Regions from separate parts of the Homo sapiens genome. Here region 1 is linked to region 2. Evidence: promoter capture Hi-C in 16 types of primary human blood cells and fetal thymus (Javierre and others, 2016). All regions are on one chromosome and are shown on one strand. The core of a region is centred on a gene start or on the middle of the fragment in contact, and the rest is flanking DNA. Distances in the headings are between cores, read along the strand shown. Region 1 overlaps NEIL3 (nei like DNA glycosylase 3). Region 2 holds the start of SPCS3 (signal peptidase complex subunit 3).

Region 1 (6,658 bases), core at 1,581-4,080, 1.0 Mb before region 2:
AAAAATGTCTTTTACACTTTTAAGGCTTTTTAAATTAACCATAATTATATAGTTAAAAGAAAAAGGCTAGATTAGCTTGAAATCTGATTATTTTTAGAAGACTGAAACTGCTCACTCAGTTTCAACAACCAAAAAACTTAATTCTAGGGGACAAAATTTAATAAGAGCATTTTCTTTGTTGACCTGAAAAAGGATTTTTTTTTCCTTTTTAACCTTAGAGATTCATTAATAAAAAAAGAAAGAAAGAAAATAAACATTCAAATACCATCCTAGCAGAGAATATATTCCATTTTGGTATAAATTCTACTTCAAAAGATATTTTGATATATTTGGTCAGTTTTATTCCACTCACAAATATTTAAGGCTCCTACAAAGAAAATATCTTGAGTTTCCATCAGCACTGTGAAAATTTAAAAGCCCAGAAATATGGCTCACCACGTATGAGCTGAAAATTACACAATTTATATTAATTTAAGGAAAGTATTGAAAGACCCAATTTAATCTGGGTGGAAATGGGCAGTTTTCTATGGTCATCTTTTTCTGGAGGAAGAAGTAAGCAAATGCAATTTAAAAATAGCCATAGTTACTCAAGACCGATCTGCAGAGCAAGAGGTTCATTCACATTTTAGGCCAATTAATAAAGAATACTACAATACCTGACTTTCTGAACATAGTAAAAATGAAAATTTTGGATACAGAAAATGGACTGTGAAGAAAGAAAATACATATTTGCATTACTTTGTTTAAAAGATGTGTTTATTGAATTCTATATATGCATATAGTATATAACTTTCCACATTTACAAGTCAGCAAGTCCTTCCTTCTCAAAACTGTGGTAGACAGAGAAACATTATTATCCCATTTTACAGATGAAGAAACTAAACTTAAATAAAGTTATCCAAAGAATCTAAACCACACAGATAGTAGTAAGTGGCAAAGCTTGATTGAACCAAGGTCTATAGTCAGTGGCAAAGCCTGATGGAACTAAGGTTATCTGAAAGTGTTACTGTAGGTCAGCCTCTCTAGACTTTCTATATTTTATGTATCCAAAAATAGAAAAAGAGTCTGTGAAATGCCAACATGGCTGCTCCTAACTTGGTATAAAGATAATTGAATATGGTTATAGTTAGACGAGTTTGAACTGACCTATGACCTAGAATTTCAAGATGTTAATTACACCCACATAATGTCACTCTCCCTTAATGTACCTCCATGCTCTTTCCACTAGATGGCTATATACAGCTTTCACATTTTTTGGTGCACTCCAAAAGGAAACCACTGACATTTTACATTTTACACAGTTGAAAAATTTTGCTCTTACCCTGTAAAAGAGAATGCTGAAATCACGTATCATTTTCATGAGGTGATGGATCTGTTCATCTGTTAATTGACAAACCTTGAAGTGGAAAAAACAGCAGAGCCTAGTTTCATGACTTGCTCATTACTGTAAGAAATAATACGCCTTGCCAATTCTGTGAAAGAGAACTGTAAATAGATTTTGAATACAGCTGACCTTTGAACAACATGGGTTTGAACTGGGAGGGTCCACTTATACGCAGATTTTTTTCTGCCTCTGCCATCCCTGAGACAGCAAGACCAACCCCTCCTCTTCCTCCTCAATCTATTCAATGTAATGATGATGAGGAGCAATAACTTTATGATGACCGACTTCCACTTAATGAGTAGTAAATATAATCCTTATGATATTCTTCTGTTTTTTTAGAGACAGGGTCTCACTCTATTGCCCAGGCTGGAGTGCAGCAGCATCATCATAGCTCACTGCAGCTTCAAACTCCTGGGCTCAGCCATCCTTCCGCCTCAGCCTCCCAGGTAGCTGGGATTACAGGCGCAGACCATCACACCTGGCTCTTACCATATTCTTAATAACAATTTCTTTTCTCAAGCTTACTTTATTGTAATAATACATATGTAACACATAAAACATACAGAATATGTGTGAACTATGTTATCAGTAAGGCTTCTGATCAACAGTAGGCTATTAGTAGTTACGTTTTTGAAGAGTCAAAAATTGTATATAGATTTTCAATGGGAGGGGTTAGCACCCCAATTCCTGTGTTGTTCAAGAGTCAATCGTATATGAATATCTTCTAGAGCTCTATTTCTTACGGATCTATTTAGTACCATTAACAGTAGTTATATTTTGAACTGATAATATTACTGACAAAATATGATTCCTATTTATACATTTTAATTGTAAATTCAAGCATTTATTGAATATTTATTCTGTATTAGACATCTTCAAAGTCTCAGCATTGTCTATCAGACACCTTGAGAAGTCTTGCTGGACTCAAAAAAAAAAATTACCAAGAACAATATAAAACAGAAAGAAGGGAAGGGAAAATAGGCACAGGAGTAGATGACCACCAAGGTCACTATCGAGCTTTAGAAAAGATATGCATTTCTATACATGCATTAATATCAAAGTACTTATTAACACATGGAAGAGCTCAGACACAGACCTTACTGAAGAATTTTTTTCTGACACAGCCTAACATAAATCTCAGTGTTACCCTTGCAGAATTATTATTTGGCACATGTGCCGTCAATGGTAATCCCAAAAGAAACCCTCTGATGCCTCATGCTTGTTGCCTGTGTGTGAATATCTATATGTACAGCTGACCCTTCAACGACACAGGTTTGAACTGAGCAGGTCCACGTACATGTAGATTTTTTTCAATCAAACATGAATGAAAAATATAGTATTTGTGAGATGTGAAGCCTGCATGTGTGTAGGGCTGACTTTTTGTGTAGCAGTGTCCCTAGGGCCAACTGCAGGACTTCAGTATGTATGGACTTGGTATAGGCAGGAGTACTGCAACTGATCCCCTGTGTATACTGAGGGAAGCTGCATATAAACAGACACATACATGTACAAAGAAAATCACTTATCAGTGACTATAGAAGTGAAAATCTAATCAACATAGTCATCCTGAAAGTATTATACATATTCAATTGTTCACTTAAACTTTAAAACTTACATACATCCAAAATATTTATTACTTTCCAAATCTTACATACTATATTAAGTCACATCTTGAAAAGTTAAACTGTACTTTTTCAGTAATTGTGCACGTGCTTTTAAGAAGCTAAGAGCTAAATTTCAGAAATGTGTGTGTGTGTGTGTGTGTGTGTGAGAGAGAGAGACAGAGTCTCGCTCTGTTGCCAGACTGCAGTGCAGTGGCGTGATCTCTGCTCACTGCAACCTCCGCCTCCCGGGCTTAAGCGATTGTCCTGCCTCAGCCTCTCCAGTAGCTGGGACTACAGGCATGTGCCACTACGCCCACCTCATTTTTGTGTTTTTAGTAGAGACAGGGTTTCACCATGTTGGCCAGGATGGTTTCACCACGTTGGCCAGGATGGTCTCACCTCTTGACCTCGTGATCTGCCCGCGTCAGCCTCCCAAAGTGCTGGGATTACAGGCATGAACCACCGTGCCTGGCCAATGTCATTAATTTTTAAACCCCCAGGCATTATGGGTAAATGATCATTTCCTAGATGGATGGATGGCTGGATGCAGAGATAAAAAGTAAATTCTCAGTGCATCACAGATAACAACAATACCCTGGGTTCTCTTTTTTTCAAAAACAACTTTCGTAGAGGTCTAAGTGATTTTTAAAAAGCTCACTCTTGTTAAAGTTCTGTTTCATTATTTCCATACTGAACTCACGTGTTCCAAGTATCAAAAAGCAGAATCTAATCTAGACCTATCATTAACTGGCTTCTTTTAAAGCTTCATTCCTACTGATTTGGGTATTACTAAAACTATCTAGTAAGTATCTACACAAAGTAAAAAAATAACCTGGGTTTATGTAAAAGATAATTTAGTTAATAGAGTCAATTATGTAAAAAATAATTCAGCTAAAAGAGCTAAAAATTAATTTAGTTAGTGGCAACAGGTCTTGATAAAAGCCCTAATGTAGAGGTCTTCCCTAGAAACTAAAATGTATGTATTCTACCTGGGTTAGGGTTCTCACCTCTCTTACCCTCTTAGAACATTGCTATATTCATCACCATTCCCTTTTCTACAATTTTAACCTCTGCCCTTTAACCACTTTTTTTTTTTTGCAACATATAAATAAGTTCAAGTCTCTGCAGTTGTAGAACAAGAAAAAAAATAAAATAACCAACTCATGTCTTGCCCTGGAATCCCCTCTAGCAAGCCAATATTTTCCCTTCACTCCGGCCTATGTGAACAAGGGCTCTACATTTTGCTTTCATTTCCTCACTGATCACTTATTCCTTGGTCCCTGCTGCCTGCCTTCCATTGCTATCCTTCCACAACAGCAGCTTCTAATGTCACCAACAGCTGTAATCAGGAATACACAAGCGTGTGCAGAACATGTACTTAATATGCCAGAGAGAGAAAATAAGTTGTGAGTTAGTTCATTCACATATTCCACAAATATTAATATCTAATGCCTACCATACACCACAGGTCACGTTCTAGATGTTGGGATACTTCAGTGAACAAAAGCCTTGTTTCCTTTTGAGACTGTGTTCTAGCAGAAGGAGACAGCTTTTAAACAATCAGTATAATAAGTAAATATGTTATGTTTGAAAGGGATACCTGGTATGGAGAGAACAAAAAGCAGGGCAAGTTAAGGAAGACTGATAGAGTGAAATGTGGAGTGGGAGGGTGTGCACAAGGCAACTGTAAGTGCAAGTGCGGTGGTAGGAGCCGGCTGCACTGAGAAATTGACCTGGGTAGAAATGGGAAGCGGGACACCTGAAGTCTGATGAGACTGTGTTACTGAAATGCAGAGTTAAGGCTTCCACGTTGGTTCCTTCACAGTACCGAAAAATCAACAGATAATTAAAAAAATACTTAAAACTTACTTTAACAGCTGGGTGGAGACCACTGTCAAAGAGAGCTTCATTTTTGATGATGTTCCCTACTCCAGGCAATACGTTCTGATCCATTAGCACATCACCTAGCATCCGGCCTTTCTGTTTTTTAACTTCACTTTCTGCTCTCAAGAAACTAAATTCAGGTGAACATACATCTAATTCTTTCATCATTCTTATTCTCTGTTGGCTTTCCATTGAGTTTCTATAGAAAGGAATATAAAACACATTAATCATAAGTCTGGTTATAATTTCACAAAGTGTCTTTTAAAATGAGCTTTGCTATAAGCACTTTATGTTAATCAGGGTATAAGAGTTACATATGCAAACAACAAAGACCTTACAAATTATATTATCTGAAGGCTTCTTTAAAATGAGGTTTCATCAATTACAAACTCTTTATTTATTTGTTTCTTTAGTTACACGTGTGACATCCCAAACCAAGCTCTGCAGTATTGCAGCGTAAGTACTTTTATTTAATTTTTTTTACCTGAGTTCTACTGATGAGTCAAAGAAACAAATCAAATCTTTGGTGAGCTGCACTTCCAAAACAGGAGAAGCTCCATTTTTATATTTATACTCAAGTGGATTAATCATGATGAAGCCTTTCATTCCGAAATGAATCCTGAAACAAAATCAAACCATTTTTGAGTGGCAGAAAGTATATCATTTATCAAGCTTTTTTCCTGTACTATCATTTTTTTTTTGGATTATAAGCAAACAAATGTTAGTCAGGATAGACACTTTTAAAGGGCAGAAACCAGTGGTAAGATTATTATATATTTTTCTCTCATGACTTTGTATCCTTATAAAGATAGAAGACATGACAATCAGTTTTTCAACTCAAAAGTAAAATAACTTCTCAAAGAAATAATATGGTACCAACAATAAGCCCAAAAAAATACACCCCTGCTCCTCTTTTCTTGTCAGATGAAGTATCTTTTATTCATGGAACAGTCTAGCATCTCTTGGCATTTTCTCAGATTCAAAGGCTTGGGATGAGATAAGGCTAAGTTTAAGTTGCCTATAGTTTGTGTTTTCATAAATTCTACAAAGCCACTAATATTCAAATTCCTTATTTCTAACCACAATGGATTGGAAATAATTACCTATTGCAAAATAATATCTATGGTTTAAGATGCTCTTTTCCCCCCTTGTTTTGCACTAGGCAATGAAACAATTTTTTTTATTTTTGCAAAATCTTACGTATCAAAAAAAAAGAGAGAACAAGTCAAAATGCTATTGTCCTCAATTCTTTTCGTTTTCTTTTACCTCTATATGTATTGGGAAGAGGAGATTTATAAATATTTACGGTTAACTTGAAAGCCACAAGGCAGCGATGAAAAATTCGTAACCTTTCAGATTTTATAGGATTGATTAGCATGTCCAGTTTTTAAAAAAAGTAGTTCTGTAAGACCTCTGATGATGAAGATCAAAAATGATTCTCAAGATGAAATACTGTGATCCGCCTTTCAAATCCTTCTCCTCATAGCTTTGTTGAGTTCATAAATATGGCTCTTTTGGCAGCGAATGCTACTGCTCTGTGCTTCTAATTGCGGAGCACCATGTTATAGTATTGTACAAGGTTAACCAGTCTAACTTTAAAAATGTGGGTTTTAAACTCTGTGTGCCCTACTATCAATCATAAATGCATTTTACATGCCCCATAGTTCTTGACAGGAAAAATGTGTGCCTGTAAGTACTCCATAATTTAACTTATGGAAGTTCAACCCCAGTGAAAGGTGTACAACTGTCATGCCCAGAAGCCATCATATCTAAAATCTTTTCAGCT
Region 2 (6,427 bases), core at 132-2,631:
AGGCCCAGAATGGTAAGAAAACTTGCTCAAGACAACAACAGCTAACATCTGTTCAGTGTTTAATATGCACCAAGCTCTTCTAACCCTCACAGGGCTGACAATGGCAGTGCTGATGTCCACCCCAGGTCTATTCGAACAATATCTAACAAACATCAGTACAGTAATTTAAAAAAAAAAAAAAAAGGTGGGGGGAGAAGGCTCGCTATTTGATAACTGGCTTCTTGGCGATTCTGACAAAGAAATAAACTAAGGTTAAAGAACTTGTGTAAGACGGAAATAGAGTAGAAGGGTATGAGAACAAGAGATGGAAAAATACGACGATTAAAGACAAAAGTGCCAGAGAATAAAATCAAGGACAAAATAGGCAATAGCGAAATGGCACTGTCATTTCGAACTGCATTTTTTGGCGTTTTCGCAGACTTCTTCAAGTGGTTGGCAAAAGAAAAAGAAATAAAGAAACCCAACAAAACAAAAATCTCGCTGTATCAGAAGGCTAAGATGCTTAATTCTCTCAGTGCCCAACATCTCTGGCCAACTTCAAAGCAGCTCCAACTGTTTACTGCCTTCTGAAGGTGCAAAGGCAACAACTGTAAAGGGAATGTCAAACAGGGCAAACTCGGGTGATGAATGACACAAAGACAACCCCGTCCTGTGGCCTCCAGAGCCGCCAGGAAACCCCACGGAAGCCCGACCCAGAGCGCGGCGGCAGCGCCTGGAGGGCCTCGCATGCGGACCACGAGCGGCACCGGACGCGCGGGAGGCGCCAGCCCAGGCGGGCGGCGGCGCCGGCTCTGCTGTTGTGTTGCTCCCTCATTGGCCAGGCGTGGGTGGAGGGAAGTGAGGAACAGGAAGCAAGCGGAGGCACCGACCTGAGGAACGCTCAAAATTAAAATTTAAGAGCAAGCCCGGGAATTTACGGTGGAGGGGTGCAAGTTCCGAGGGGACGCCGGAAAAGCCTGCGACGTCCACCCCTGACGACCGCCCTCGGGGGCGAACTGCCGCTCAGGAGGGCGATCCGGACGCCCTGCCCGCGGCCCCGGCACGGCAGCCCCGGCGCGGCGGCCCGGCTTCGGCTTCCGCCCCAGCCCGGTCCCGGCGTCCTGCACCGCCGGCCCGGCCTCACTCACAGCATGATCCGCGAGACGTGCAGCCGCACCGGGACGCTCCTGTCTTTGAAGGCGGTGGTGATGAAGCAGCCGAAGGTGAGCGCCGCCATCACGCTCAGCGAGAAGGCGAACAGTGAGTTCGCCCGCGACAGCACCGTGTTCATCGCGATCGTCTCCCACGAGTCCGGACTCCACACGCACACCCAGGCTCCCGTTCCGGCGGCGGACCGGCTCCCTGCGATCCGCGCCGTCTGCGGTGCGCGCGTTCCGGGAGCGCGCGCCGCCGCAGCCCCGCCTCCTTTCCGGTCCTCCGACGCGAGCGCGCGCGCGCCCGCTTCCCGAAACACACCCACAGCGCGCACGGGGCGGCGCGGAAAGGGAGAGACTCAGCCGCGGGCCCGCCCCTCCGTCGCGGCCTAACGCCGCCACCAATCAGCGACGAGTGAGGGAGGGGCGGGGTTTGTTGTGGAAGACCCACCCCCTCCTCTTCTAAATTGCTTCTCCGACCTTTGGGTTCAGAGAATTGGGAACCGGTCGTTCGCTGTCCTTTTTCGGTTCTTTGGTCAGAGGTCTGGGACTGCGACTTCTTGATTACTTATGTACCATTTATTTTCACTTGAAACCGGCAGCAAGTTAAGGTGGTTTAGAATCTGTCCTGACGGGTGGCGTTTGGAAGCAGCACTTTACAAAACGCCTGGTCCTCTCCCTTCTTTGTCAAACCTGGTCAAAGTTAGGACTTGAGCTTTTTTTGGAGGATCTGAGGAGCAGTGGGGAGTGGGGAATTAGCCGCCCAAGTCCTTAAAGCTGTCACGTGCATCAGTATTTCCACCTCCAACGTCAGTCCAATTCCTATTAATGCTTTGCTTTGTATGGATAGCTAAAGATGTTTTAGAAGATAAGGGTTGAGGCTACCGATCCTAAGTATTTGCATTTTAACATGGTGATTTCTGATAAATAAAAGGATAACCTTTCTGGGTTCTTAGGAGCAAAGAAGATAATGGCTGCGGAATTGCTCTACAGCATAATGTATAAGAATTTCGTTGGGTCATTAATAAATAATGCAATTATTTTATCACATTTTCAATATCCTGAAGGGCATTAGGGTTCAAACCGAGCCAATCCTGACTCTGATTATACTATCTGCCAAAACCTTTGTTCCTTTCACAGCTAAGGGTTTTTATAAAAATGGATTCAGGGTCTGCTGAAATAAATTTTTTTTAAAAATTTCAGTCCATAAACCAAACAAAAATATCTGTCCTGGAATGTGATCAGGAACAAACCAGAAAACTGTGAACATCTGATCTTGATACTGGCTTATGTTGTCTCTTGTTAAGCTTTTGCTTCTTTGCATTATTCATGACCATTCAATTAATTTTTGTATAGCCATACAGGTAGGATTATTACCAAGTGCCTACCGTGTACCAGGAATAGTTCTAAGCCTTGAGAATACAGCACTAATAAGGCAGACTCCCTGCTCAAATAGAGCCAACTAATGAAAAATCGATAAAATAGAGACTAAAGAGAGATCCTTAGTTGCGTTTAAAATCTTAGTTTTTAACTTCCAGGCTGGCACAGTTTGTTAACAAAAAAAGAAAAAAAAGGATTTTTATTGAATGCCATCTATACTGCAAGTGATACAGAGATTGTACTGATCACTTTCTACACTCAAAAGTATATAATCAGGTAGAGTTAATAAAATAAAAACAAATCTGAAATGTAAAACAAAAAAATACCCTGGGAAGTTACATAGCAAAGGAGGAAGGAATTACAGCCCTGGTAATGTGGGACAACACAGTGTGCAAATTATTTAACACAAAGCCTAAACAAGACACATTATTATTATAGCATGTTTTAGGGAAATAATTCTTGTTGTTGAACTGCAAGTACAGGTATATCTAAGAGATACTCAGAAGGCTGGTCCTGATAAACAATGCATGTATAAAAGAGTAAGCAGAAATAAGCCTGGAAAGGTAAGTTATGGTAGAAAACCAGGTCAAGAAGTTGACTTTATATCAGGGAAATTACATGTAAAACAAGCATCGCTACACAGGCAACCATTTACCAGTTATATGTGGAGAGTGAGTGATGGACCCAAAAGGAAGACTGATAGGAGGGGCATTTCGGAAACAAACTCTATGTTACTTAGCAACTGCCTAAATAAGAGTGGGGGTCTGCAAAGCATAGAGTGAATGCAGATTGTGAACACTCAAATGAAACTAGTATTATTATTATGACACCACAGTTTTTAACTTGACTTACTGGTAGTGCTAAAAACACATAAAAGTCCACAAAAAGAGCAGGAGAGGGATGGGATAGGGAATTTTCTTATTCTGTTTTATTTTTCCAAGTGTTTCTTTAGATTTTCTAGACATTTATATCACCTACATTAGATATCATTTTGCCTTTTCCGTTCCAATTATTATATTTCCAATTGTTTATTCATTTCAGTAGCTAATATTTCCAACATGATATTCAGTCAGATGGGGACAACTGATATCTTTTTGTTCCTGATTTGAGCAGGAAATTTCCTTTCATTTCTCCATCAAGTAAGATGTTGGCTTTGAGATGGAAATTGTGTGTGTGTGTGTACATGTATCATTATATAATATATATTGCATATTGATAGGAAATATCTATTCCTATTGGGAAATTTTTAAAAATATAAACAAGTGCTAAATTGTTTTCAGATGCATTTTCCCTATCTTATTTCCTCTACTTCTTTCCTCTATCTTATTTCCTCTGCTTATTTAATGGGTTATATGAATAGATTTTATAATATTGGCCCAGTAAGCATTCCTGGAATAAACTCCACCTGGTCATGATGAATTAGTTTTTAATATGCTCTTGTGCTTTCTTTGCTAATTTTGGGGTTTTTTGTTTTTTAGTTTGTGTAATCAATATTCATAGTGAAACTGATGTGTTTTTTTGATTGTAATATTATACTCAAATTAGAAAATATATATTTCTAATATAACAAGGAAAATAAGTTTTCCTTAGTTTTCTGTGCACTGGGATATTTTAAGTAGCATTTGGATCTGGTCTTTAAAAATTTGATAGAAAATTTGGTAGAAATTCCCAAGGGAGTCTATTCTTCTATTTTTTTTAAATTATTAATTGTTAATTCTAATTATGTATACTTGTGCTTTCTACCTTTTTCATTTATTGTTTTAATTAGTATTTTTTCTTGTTTTCTTTCAAAGCACTTCTGCATTTACTAATTAACTCTACTGTTTTCCAACTCATTAATTTTTGGTTTTAACACTATCAACTTTTTTCATTCCACTTTTTTTGTTTATTAGCTTTGGAAATTGGATATTTAGTTGGTATATTTTTCATGTTTATTGTTATGGTAACTGCTTTAGCTGTATCCTAAAATTTCTGACTATGAATTTCCAAGAGAAAGTACCATTTTTCCTTTTGATTGCTTTAAATTAATGTCTGATTTTAAATCATGTAGGCAGAGAATGCTGTTTGTATATTTCTATTCTTTGGATTATTGAGGTCTTCTTTGTGGCCTAAAATGTCACTTTTGTGAAAATTCAATGTGCAACTTGAAAGAAGGTATTTCCTCTTAATAGTATATAGAATTTGATAGATACCTATGAGATCTGCCTTATTGATTATGTTATTTATGTCTTTTACATCTGTAGTAATATTTGTTACCTTCATTTTCTTGGATTCTGAGAGATTTGTTAAAATCTCCAATACTGTGTTTTGTCTGTTTATTCTCACATCTCCTATAGTTTCTCCTTCACAAAAATTGTTGATATATTATTTGGTAAGCAAGTATTAATAATAGTTACATTTTCATTATGAATGGTAGTCTTCAACATTGTAACGTGTTATTTTATTTTTAATGCTTTTTGATGCAAATACTACTAGTCAAACACTGAGGTTGTACTGAAGGAAACTGAGGCTGTTTATCTGAAATAGTATTACAGACCTTAAATTAATACGTAGCATTTTTAAACTAAGTGTCTTGTACTCTTTAATGATTTCAGCTCAGAACCTAGTGGCAGTAATGGGGGGAGCGATTGGCATGCTTTGTCAGCGCTTGAGTAAATAGCGATCAGCTGGGAAAGACATGCCTAACTGTATTTCTGAAGGATAGAAAGAAACCTAGAATAAATGTAAAGTTTTGATCTTCATATTTGCAAATAATTATTCTTCTGTAACACCAAGCTAAGAAGAGGTAAGAACAATAAATCACTTTATAAGGAAATCTTTAAATAAAGCTGTGTGCACATGGCCAGATAATGCTTTTTAAAAAGGGGATAAACTGAAAGATATAATAAAAGCCTTCTTTTTTTTTTTTGAGATGGAATTTCGCTCTTGTTGCCCAGGCTGGAGTGCAATGGCGCGATCTCAGCTCACTGCAACCTCCACCTCCCAGGTTCAAGTGATTCTCCTGCCTCAGCCTCCCGAGTAGCTGGGATTACAGGCGCCCGCCACCACGCCCAGCTATTTTTTTGTATTTTTTGTGGAGACAGGGTTTCACCATGTTGGCCAGGCTGGTCTTGAACTCCCGACCTCAGCCGATCCGCCCGCCAAGGCCTCACAAAGTGCCGGGATTATGGGCATGAGCCACTGCGCCCGGCCAATAAAAACGTTCTAATTAAATATGGTGTTATTGGGAATATCCAAAGAGTCCACAAAGCACCAAGCTCCCCAGGGAAGTTCCTGCAATGGAGCATGTTATAGATCTAGCACATTAAGGACTCAAATGGTTTTCAGAAAGTGACTATGAATTATGTTGTTCATCATAGAGAGTGGGGATCAGGTCTTGTTCATTTTTCTATCCCTTTCAGTGCCCAGGACACTGAGCCTTGCACGTAGTAGATGGTCAAAAAAATTCTTATTGAATTGAGATACCTTGAAATCATAGATCATGATATTTTTGAAAGAATTCTCATGTAAAGCATATATGTCACACACAGGTAACGAACAGTTAAAGTGTAAATGGGTAAAATGGTAAAGTGTAAAGCTAAATTGAATATGTAGGCCAAGGACAAATTGTAAAAGGCTTGAGTGCCAGGCTAATAAGTTTGATCATAATTCAGGAGACAATAACGAACTTTTGAGGATTTTAGATCAGTTGAGTGTCATGACCATGTAGGCTCTCAGTAGATAAGTAATTTCTTTGAGACGGATGCGACTGCCAGTTTGTAGACCAGGCCAGAAGTTATTGCAGTAGGTTTTTGTTATAGTTGTTGTTTTGAAGATACTTGCTTGGTTAATCGAAAGATATAATCAGTCAAGCTGGTAAGTAGACTATTCCAGTGTGATAATTCCAGGAGTGCTATGTTTGTGAATCTCTTTAA

Evidence for each region. The method cuts DNA at HindIII sites, captures the fragments that hold promoters and counts their contacts. A CHiCAGO score of 5 or more calls a contact.
Region 1: a contact is called between a fragment that was not itself captured here and the fragment with the promoter of SPCS3 in region 2, in 1 of 17 cell types (total CD8 T cells). The highest score is 5.3, in total CD8 T cells.

Annotation. Positions count from the first base shown.
Region 1 is chr4:177,334,521-177,341,178 of GRCh38, reverse strand. It overlaps NEIL3 (nei like DNA glycosylase 3), which reads right to left. Exons shown (of 10, transcript NM_018248.3): 3 at 5,357-5,491; 4 at 4,858-5,071; 5 at 1,322-1,396. Among named protein-coding and RNA genes, the nearest start is that of NEIL3, 28 kb to the right of the region's middle. The HindIII fragment of the contact is 1,847 bases long and covers 1,907-3,753 here.
Region 2 is chr4:176,314,920-176,321,346 of GRCh38, reverse strand. It overlaps SPCS3 (signal peptidase complex subunit 3), which reads right to left and starts at 1,381. Exons shown (of 5, transcript NM_021928.4): 1 at 1,128-1,381. The coding sequence starts at 1,270. SPCS3-AS1 (SPCS3 antisense RNA 1) reads left to right here and starts at 837. Exons shown (of 4, transcript NR_186171.1): 1 at 837-1,202. RefSeq lists silencers at 668-747, 778-847, 968-1,087 and an enhancer at 1,070-1,570. The HindIII fragment of the contact is 6,231 bases long and covers 1-2,442 here.